Regions from separate parts of the Homo sapiens genome. Here region 1 is linked to region 2. Evidence: promoter capture Hi-C in 16 types of primary human blood cells and fetal thymus (Javierre and others, 2016). All regions are on one chromosome and are shown on one strand. Each heading gives the region's core, a stretch centred on a gene start or on the middle of the fragment in contact. The rest is flanking DNA. Distances are from core to core; before and after follow the strand shown. Region 1 overlaps SLCO3A1 (solute carrier organic anion transporter family member 3A1). Region 2 holds the start of PRC1-AS1 (PRC1 antisense RNA 1).

Evidence for each region. The method cuts DNA at HindIII sites, captures the fragments that hold promoters and counts their contacts. A CHiCAGO score of 5 or more calls a contact.
Region 1: a fragment that was not itself captured here is called in contact with the fragment with the promoter of PRC1-AS1 in region 2 in 1 of 17 cell types (endothelial precursors); the score reaches 6.7 in endothelial precursors.

The regions. Positions count from the first base shown.
Region 1 is chr15:92,080,603-92,085,172 of GRCh38, reverse strand. The region is part of intron 2 of SLCO3A1 (solute carrier organic anion transporter family member 3A1); the gene reads right to left. Among named protein-coding and RNA genes, the nearest start is that of SLCO3A1, 230 kb to the right of the region's middle. RefSeq lists an enhancer at 2,777-2,826. The HindIII fragment of the contact is 984 bases long and covers 1,561-2,544 here.
Region 2 is chr15:90,962,882-90,967,651 of GRCh38, reverse strand. It overlaps PRC1-AS1 (PRC1 antisense RNA 1), which reads right to left and starts at 1,283. Exons shown (of 4, transcript NR_051984.1): 1 at 974-1,283. It overlaps PRC1 (protein regulator of cytokinesis 1), which reads left to right. Exons shown (of 15, transcript NM_003981.4): 15 at 450-1,612. The coding sequence ends at 521. It overlaps RCCD1 (RCC1 domain containing 1), which reads right to left. Exons shown (of 8, transcript NM_001017919.2): 8 at 4,527-4,770. The HindIII fragment of the contact is 668 bases long and covers 828-1,495 here.

The DNA.
Region 1 (4,570 bases), core at 803-3,302, 1.1 Mb before region 2:
GTGCGTCCAAGTACTACCAACTTAACTGCCTGGAAACCTGGGGAGCCCCCTCAGCCTCTCTATGCTGGTTTGCTGCATCTGAAAAGTAGTGTGCTACTAAGACATTTTATAGGGCTGTGGTGAGTAATAAATGAAAGCAATGGTGGGGGCCCAGCCCTGGCACAGATGAAGCACTTCATAAACATCAGTTTCCACTGATGCTCCAAGAGGAAGACTCCATGGCACCCATTCTTGTTCTCCCTCCTTCCGCCTGGCCCTGCGGCTTCTGCAGGCTCACTGGAAGGCCTGCTCTTGGAAGAGATACTATCACTGGCTGGCTATGGTGGTGCATGCTGCATTGTTTGAGAAAAATGTTGACCCTTCCATGTGAACCTTTATTTTTCTCTTTGTCAAAGTGTAGCATGGGGCATGGCTCCTGCGTTGAACAGCCTGTGGGGCTGGGTGAGAGGAGCACAGGCTGCCCGAGGAGCTGCAGGCATCTGCTACCTGCTGGCATAAACTCTTTATGCCCCTGAGAGCAAAGCCAAACAGGCCATCCAGAAACCCAGGGACTGCTATCAGCTCCCCTACTCACTTTGCAATTAGATGCACCCATTCGTGTTTCTGACCCTCAAGGTCTCCTGGGGTGGAAAAGGACAGAGAGGTACTACTGACCTTGAGGGAGGATCGGTGTCAAGGCTCTGCTGTACTGGTGTGTCTGTGAGCATGGTACAAATGCTCCCTCGGCCTCAGTTTCCTCCTCTGTAAAATGGGATGACAACAATCCCTACCTCCTAAGGGGTTATTGAGGGTCAAATACGTAGTGCACAGAATGCTTCTGATCAATTCCTGGAACACAGACATTCTCAAAAACCATCAGCTGTTATTTGTTCTTCTTACTGGTGCCTCTAACAGCAGGATTTTCTTTTTTTATGACGTTTTAAATCACTTAGGTAAACTCTGCTTTTTTTAGAGAATGTGGAAAATACAGGATCATGTAAAGGATTAGCATCGTTCTCATATTTCCCTTTAGGCATTATTATATTTGTACTGTCTTTCTTCATATGCGTTTATCATTCCTGGAACCATGTAAGTTAATTTACAAACAAAACCCCTTTTCTTCATTTTAAAAGCAGCACATGCTCATTAAGGATGACTGAGGATAAACCAAGCGTAGAGAGGCAGAATAACACAGTGGCCAAGAACACAGACCCTAGAGCTGCATGGCCAGGGTCTGCAGTCACTGGCTGTGTGACCTTGACAAAGGTACTTACCTACTCTGGCCCTCCATACTCTCACCTGTGAGTGAGGTTAACAGTACCCACCTCGCAGGATTGTTTTGAGGTTTGGGTGATTAGTGCCTCACAAGGGCTTTCCACAGCGCCTGGCATACAGTAAGTGCTCAATAAATTTTAGCAATCATTATTACAAAGATGACAGCACAAATCACCATCTCTCACCACCCAGAAACACTGACATGCATTTAGATCTTCCCTTCTCGTCTGTTTCTATGCACAAGGCTTATTTCTTATGAGTAATTTTTAATAAATCCCAACACAGTTCTCCTAATGACAGAAAGCTTAGAGACAAATACGATTCTCTGAAGAACATACTTCTGAAGAATACAATTATCTATTGCAATAGAATTTCAGGTGCTGATAGAACGGAACTGCAAGGACCAGGCACTTCTCAGCTGTCCTTGGGAGAGTGGTGAAGGGAGAACCTACTGTACCCAGGAGTCACGCTGCCCTGCACTCAAACCTCTGCTCAGATCCCTTCCTGAACGTGGGAAGGGAGGGCACCTGAGGACAGTGAGATCTCACATGACAGTCAGTCCTGACTTCTTAGCAGTGACAGAGACAGCACCAAGCTAGCTGGGCAGCAGAAGGGCAGAGCTGAGGGTTCTGTACTTGACAAAATGAGAGATCCCTTTGGGGGAAGCCTGAGGTTTTCTTTAGAGGAATCTTGAGATTTGCTTGACTCAACTTCGAGGAAACAAGAAAACGGTCTCTCCTATAATATCTCGCAGGGCTGGTACACACGGGTGACGGCTTCTACCTCTTTACAAGGAAAGTGATCATTTCGTCTGATTATAAAAGTAATGCATTCAGCAGGGGGAAAACACAGTTTTCCTACCATCCAGAGGCAGTCATTTTCTTCAGCTCTTTCTCTGCCCCTTCTGATTTATTCAAGGTCAATCATTCTCACTATGCCTTGATAAGGTGAGTTTATGAGACTCTTTTTGTAGATGAGAATACAGAAGCGCAGAGAGATCAGTCAGCTGCACCAAGGTCACACAGCTTGTACATGGTGGAAGTGGATTTTAACTCAGGACTCCGGGACCTAGTTCCTAGAGAAAGAGCAGGTATCACGGCACAGTGGTGAAGGCGTGAGAATCAGCCAAGGCTGATTCCTACCAGGCTGGAATCCTGGTTACATTTCTCAATTTCTGGAAGATTCACTTCCCAACTCTGAGTCTGGGAAGAAGGGTTATCAGTCTTGTAGAACAGTGAGAATTATATGTAATGCATGCAAATCTTCTGATATCTGGCATGAATAGAAGCTTTCTAGAATTATCTTTGTGTTTCAGGAACAATGAGTCCAAGAATGGGGGCGTGCATGGCTGGTCTCCCTAGGCTGTTTCTTTGGCTGGACTTGGAGTAATTTTAACCCTAGATGGTTCTCGCAAGTGGGAGGAGTGAGGAGGAAACGCGGGTTGGCTGTGACTCTGCCCCACTAGAGGGCAGTGCTGACCTAGGAAAAAGAGCAATTCCAGGCTGCTTGAACATCCTTGGCCTCCACTTCCTAAATGCCTGTGAAACCCTCCGTCAGGGCTTTGCGTTTCTCATCACCCACTTGCCTTCGTCTCCTCAATTTATATAAATGTATTGCCACATCTTAAATCTGCAGGCTCAAAGTTCTCCCCTCAGAGGGAGCATTCTGCATCATATGTGCATGAATAAAACATGATCCATAAACAGCAGGAAACCTGCAATACACATTTATCTGGTGCCTGCTGCCAACAGCCTGCCAGCATTACATAACTGACCTTGCTTATGTCTGAGGAGGAGGTGAACAGGGAAGGAGACGGTGAGGAGGTGACCATTTATTGAGCACAAATTAGGTGTTAGACACTGTGTAATAGAATTATCTCCATCACAAAGTTTACAAACAAAACCAAACACTAATGTTACCAAATCCACACAGTACATGACAGAGCCAGAGCATATGTGCCCCTCCCCACATTACTGCACCTGTTGACCTCTTAGATCAGATACATCAATGGGGCTCAAACTGGGCTGCACATTGGATTCACCTCAGAAACTTGTAAAAAGAAAACACCAATCCCTAGGTCTCACTCCTGGAGATTGTGATGAAGCTGGTCTGGAAGACACACTAGGCAATGGGCTTTTCCCAAAGTCCCCAGGTGATTCTACCTGCAGACAGGTTGAGAATCCTGGACTAGAACCAGCCTCTGCCCTTGCTGCCCTTGACCAGACTTTCTCATTAAAAAGCACCATCAGTGGGCTGGGTGCAGTGGCTCACACCTGTAATCCCAGGACTTTGGGAGGCCGAGGTGGGCAGATCGCCTGAGGTCAGGAGTTCGGGACCAGCCTGGCCAACATGGTGAAAACCTTATCTCTACTAAAAATATAAAAGCCAGGCATGGTGGTGGGCACCTGTAATCCCAGCTACTAGGCAGGCTGAAGCAGGGAGAATTGCCTGAATCTGTGAGGTGGAGGTTGCAGTGAGCCAAGATCGCACCAGTGAGCCGAGATCACAACACTGCGCTCCAGCCTGGGCAATAGAGCGAGACTCTGTCTCAAAAAAAGGAGAAAAAGAAAAAAAAAAGCACCACTAGTGGTACCAGCACTGACCAAAGAAATAGCTGGTACCCAAAATGCATTTGGGAGGTAAAGAGTAGAATGATGGTTACCAGAGGCTGGGAAGGGGGCAGGGGAGGTGGGGATGGTTAATGGGTGCAAAAATATAGACAGGATGAATAAACTCTAGTATCTGATATTGCAACAGGGTGACTACAGTCAACAGTAATTTATTTTACATTTAAAAATAACTGAAAGAGTATCACTGGAATGTCGGTAACACAAAGAAATGATAAATGCTTGAGGTGATGATGGATACCCCATTTACCTTGATGTGATTATTGCACATTGTAGGCCTGTGTCAAAAAATCTCACGTACCCCATACACACACACACACACACACACACACACACACACACACACACACACAGCTACTATGTATCCATAAAAATGAAAAATACCTACCTTCCCCCGCCCAAAAAAAATGCATCTGGGCACATGGGCTAAAGGAAGAATATGGACACAATTTGATATTCACCCTGGAAGGTGGAGGGGCAGCCATTCACCAAATGTGGCCAGACCAAAGTCACTGAGCATGGTGACAGAACCCAAATCTCTCGTAAAGCCAGCCAAAGCAGCACTGTATGCCGCCACGAGTGTGAGCACTCAGCACAGAACTCTGCCTGGTGTACCCCGTGTGGCCTCTGGGGCACCGAGTATGGCCCCTACTGCTGTCTGGTATGGGCATGGGCCTTGCTTATGCTGG
Region 2 (4,770 bases), core at 34-2,533:
GTGGGTTTTTTTGATTCAGGCTATTCCTGGGATACTGTAGGCAATTGTAACGCAATGGTAAGTATTTGTGTATCTAAACATAGAAAAGGTACAGTAAAAATATGGTATAATCTTATGGGACCACCATAGTGTATGTGGCCTGTCGTTAACTGAAACATCATTATGCAGTGCATGACTGTATGAAGGATTTCTCTTCTGTGAGGTGTAACAGAATGGACTGGCTGAGGAAAAAGGGGTCACGGGCATGCGTGCACATGCACTCTGTCTGTGACTAATAGAATGGTGCTCAGAGTTCCTCACCTTTTACTCCTAACGCAGCCTATTGCAGGCTAGGGATCTCAGAGAAACTACCTTCAAGGGACCTTTTGCTGACACTTAACCAAACTTAGAAGGGTGGGCCATGTGTAAGAGAGGCAGTATGGCCACTGATGTTATTTATTTTTCAACAGCGAGAACTTTCAAAGGCTTCCAAATCTGATGCTACTTCTGGAATCCTCAATTCAACCAACATCCAGTCCTGAGAAGCCCTGATCAGTCAACCAGCTGTGGCTTCCTGTGCCTAGACTGGACCTAATTATATGGGGGTGACTTTAGTTTTTCTTCAGCTTAGGCGTGCTTGAAACCTTGGCCAGGTTCCATGACCATGGGCCTAACTTAAAGATGTGAATGAGTGTTACAGTTGAAAGCCCATCATAGGTTTAGTGGTCCTAGGAGACTTGGTTTTGACTTATATACATGAAAAGTTTATGGCAAGAAGTGCAAATTTTAGCATATGGGGCCTGACTTCTCTACCACATAATTCTACTTGCTGAAGCATGATCAAAGCTTGTTTTATTTCACCACTGTAGGAAAATGATTGACTATGCCCATCCCTGGGGGTAATTTTGGCATGTATACCTGTAACTAGTAATTAACATCTTTTTTGTTTAGGCATGTTCAATTAATGCTGTAGCTATCATAGCTTTGCTCTTACCTGAAGCCTTGTCCCCACCACACAGGACAGCCTTCCTCCTGAAGAGAATGTCTTTGTGTGTCCGAAGTTGAGATGGCCTGCCCTACTGCCAAAGAGGTGACAGGAAGGCTGGGAGCAGCTTTGTTAAATTGTGTTCAGTTCTGTTACACAGTGCATTGCCCTTTGTTGGGGGTATGCATGTATGAACACACATGCTTGTCGGAACGCTTTCTCGGCGTTTGTCCCTTGGCTCTCATCTCCCCCATTCCTGTGCCTACTTTGCCTGAGTTCTTCTACCCCCGCAGTTGCCAGCCACATTGGGAGTCTGTTTGTTCCAATGGGTTGAGCTGTCTTTGTCGTGGAGATCTGGAACTTTGCACATGTCACTACTGGGGAGGTGTTCCTGCTCTAGCTTCCACGATGAGGCGCCCTCTTTACCTATCCTCTCAATCACTACTCTTCTTGAAGCACTATTATTTATTCTTCCGCTGTCTGCCTGCAGCAGTACTACTGTCAACATAGTGTAAATGGTTCTCAAAAGCTTACCAGTGTGGACTTGGTGTTAGCCACGCTGTTTACTCATACAGTACGTGTCCTGTTTTTAAAATATACAATTATTCTTAAAAATAAATTAAAATCTGTATACTTACATTTCAAAAAGATATAGTGTGGTGTTTCCTTTTTTTCCCCAGTCACTTTTTAGTTGGTTGGTCTGTGTGTGAAAAACAAACACAAAAAACTAAAAGGACCTCCTGGAAATTTTTAGTCAGGAGTGTGATTTTTTTTTTTGAGTCTCACTCTGTCGCCCAGGCTGGAGTACAGTGGCACTATCTTGGTTCAGTGCAACTTCCACCTCCCAGGTTCAAGCGATTCTCCTGCCTCAGCCTCCCGATTTGCTGGGATTACAGGCACGCACCATCACACCTGGCTAATTTTTGTATTTTTAGTAGAGACAGGCTTTCACCATGTTGGCCAGGCTGGTCTTGAACTCCTGACCTCAGATGATCTGCCTGCCTCCCAAAGTGCTGGGATGACAGGCATGAGCCACAGCACCCGGCCGAGTGTGATTTTTAAAATATTCTCTGGTACATTTCTAAATTAAGAATATCTCTTACTCTAATTTTTTGGTGAGAAATATAAAACCTAACCCCTGATGTGTAGAGAGCAAAGGGAGTCCTAGGATGCTTCTGGCTTCAATGCCGTTTGTCTCAATATGGGGAGGCTGCCCAACTTCAACAGCGTTACTGAAGGAGGATGGACATAAACTGCACACATGTGAAGCGTAAGAGAAAAACCATCGCCACAGTCCAGTTAACCAAGTCTCTCTACCCCAGCAGTTCTTCCCACCCCTTTCTCACTCCTCCTTCCCAGCCTCACCCTGCCGAGCAACCACTGATTTTTTTTTTTTTTTTTTTTTTTTTTTTTGAGATGGAGTCTCGCTCTTGCCAGGCTGGAGTGCAGTGGCACAATCTCAGCTCACTGCAATCTCTGCCTCCCAGGTTCAAGGGATTCTCCTGCCTCAGCCTCCCGCGTAGCTGGGACTGCAGGCACGTGCCATCACGCCTGGTAAATTTTTGTATTTTTGGTACAGACAGACAGGGTTTCACTGTATTAGCTAGGATGGTCTCGATCTCCTGACCTCATGATCCGCCCACCTCGGCCTCCCAAAGTGCTAGGACTACAGGCATGAGCCACTGTACCTGGCCCACCGATTTGTTACTACAGATTAGTTTGCGTTTTCTACAGTTCGATGTAAGTAGAATCATACAGTATATATTTTTTTGGTCTGGTTCTTTCACTACTTTCAGATTTACCCATATTGTTGCTTATATCCATAATTCTTTTTTTTTTTTTTTTTTTTTTTTTTTTTTTTTTTTGCTTAGTATTCCATGGTGTTGATATACCAGTTTATTCGCCTGTTAGGTTTATTTTTCACATTTGGCTTTTCTCCAGTTTTTGGCTATTAAAAACAAGGCTGTTATAAACATTCATGTACAAGTCTTTGTATGGATATATTTTTTTTTCTGGATAAATACCTAGGAGTGAAATGGCTGGATCACATCTATGGTATGTGTACACTTAACTTTTTAAGAAATGCCAAACTGGGCCGGGCATGGTGGCTCACGCCTGTAATCCCAGCACTTTGGGAGGCTAAGGTGGGCAGATCACGAGGTCAGGAGTTCGAGACCAGCCTGGCCAACATGGTGAAACCCCATCTCTACTAAAAATACAAAAATTAGCTGGCTGTGGTGGCACACACCTGTAATCTCAGCTATTCAGGAGGCTGAGGAAGGAGAATTCCTTGAACTCAGGAGGCGGAAGTGGCAGTGAGCTGAGATTGCACCACTGCACTCTAGCCTGGGCAACAGAGCAAGACTCCATCTTAAAAAAGAAGAAATGCCAAACTGTTTTCCAAAGCAGTTGTACCATTTTACATTCCTACCAGTAATGTATGAAGGTTCCAGTTTCTCCACATCTTCACCAACAGTTGGTATGTTCAGCCTTTATGTAATTCTAGTTATTCTGTGTATGGAGTGGTGTCTCACTATGGTTTTCATTTACAACTCCCTAATGACTAATGATGTAGAGCATCTTCTCATATGCTCACTTGCTATCCTTCTGTCGTCTTTGTTGACTTTTGTCCATTTTAAAAAATGGCTTGGCCAGGCATGATGGCTCATGCCTATAATCCTAGTACTTTGGGAGGCTAAGGCAAGTGGATCGCTTCAGCCCAGCAGTTTGAGACCAGCCTGGGCAATATGCAACAACCCCATCTCTACTAAAAATACAAAAAACTAGCCAGATGTGGTGGCACGTGCCTGTAGCCCCAGCTACCCGGGAGGATGGCTTAAGCCCAGAAGGTGGAGGCTGTACTCCAGCCTGGACAACAGAGAGACCCTGTCCAAAAAAAAAAAAAAAAACCCACAATGAAATACCACTTCACACCCATTAGGATGGCTGTTAACCAGAAATAGAAAACAAGTGTGGACGCGGATGTGGAGAAATTAGGATTTGTGTGCACTTCCAGTGGGGATGTAAAATGATGCAGCCTCTGTGGGAAACAGGGCAGTTCCTCAAAAAAATTTAGAATTACCACACAATCCAGCAATTCCACTCTGGGTATATATCCAAAAGAACTGAAAGCAGAGACTCAAGAGAGTTGTACACCCATGTTCCCAGCAACATTATTGACTGTAGTGAACAACTCAGATATCCACCAATGCACGGATGAATAAAACGCAGTGTATACATACAACAGAATCTTAGCCTTTAAAAGGCAGGAAGTCTAGATACATAAGCTACATCATGGATGAACTTGGAGGACATGCTGCTAAGTGAGATAAGCCAGTCATAAAAAGACAAATACTATGGGATTTCACTTACATGAGGCACTTACAGTATCATAGGAACAGAAGGTTAGGACTGTGGTTGCCTGGGGCTGGGGAAGGGGAGACTGACGAGTTAAGTGTTTAATGCACAGAGTTTCAGCATAGAATGATGAAAAAGTTCTGGAAATGCATAGGGGTGACGGTTGCACAACAGTGAATGCATATAATGTCACTGAACTATGTACTTAAAATGGTTAAAAACAATTTTTGTTTTTTATTGAACATAAATTTTATGTTCAGTATATTTTACCACAATAAAAAAGACCCCATGGGTGGGAAACATTTGCTAAACCACAGACACACACATGCACAAATAGAATTTAACTATAAAGAAAACTACTGATAAGCTTATTTTATCAAAATAAGTTGATACTTGTAAAGCACTTTGAGCCTTACCTGGCATGGAGTAAGCATCACCTAAGTATTAAA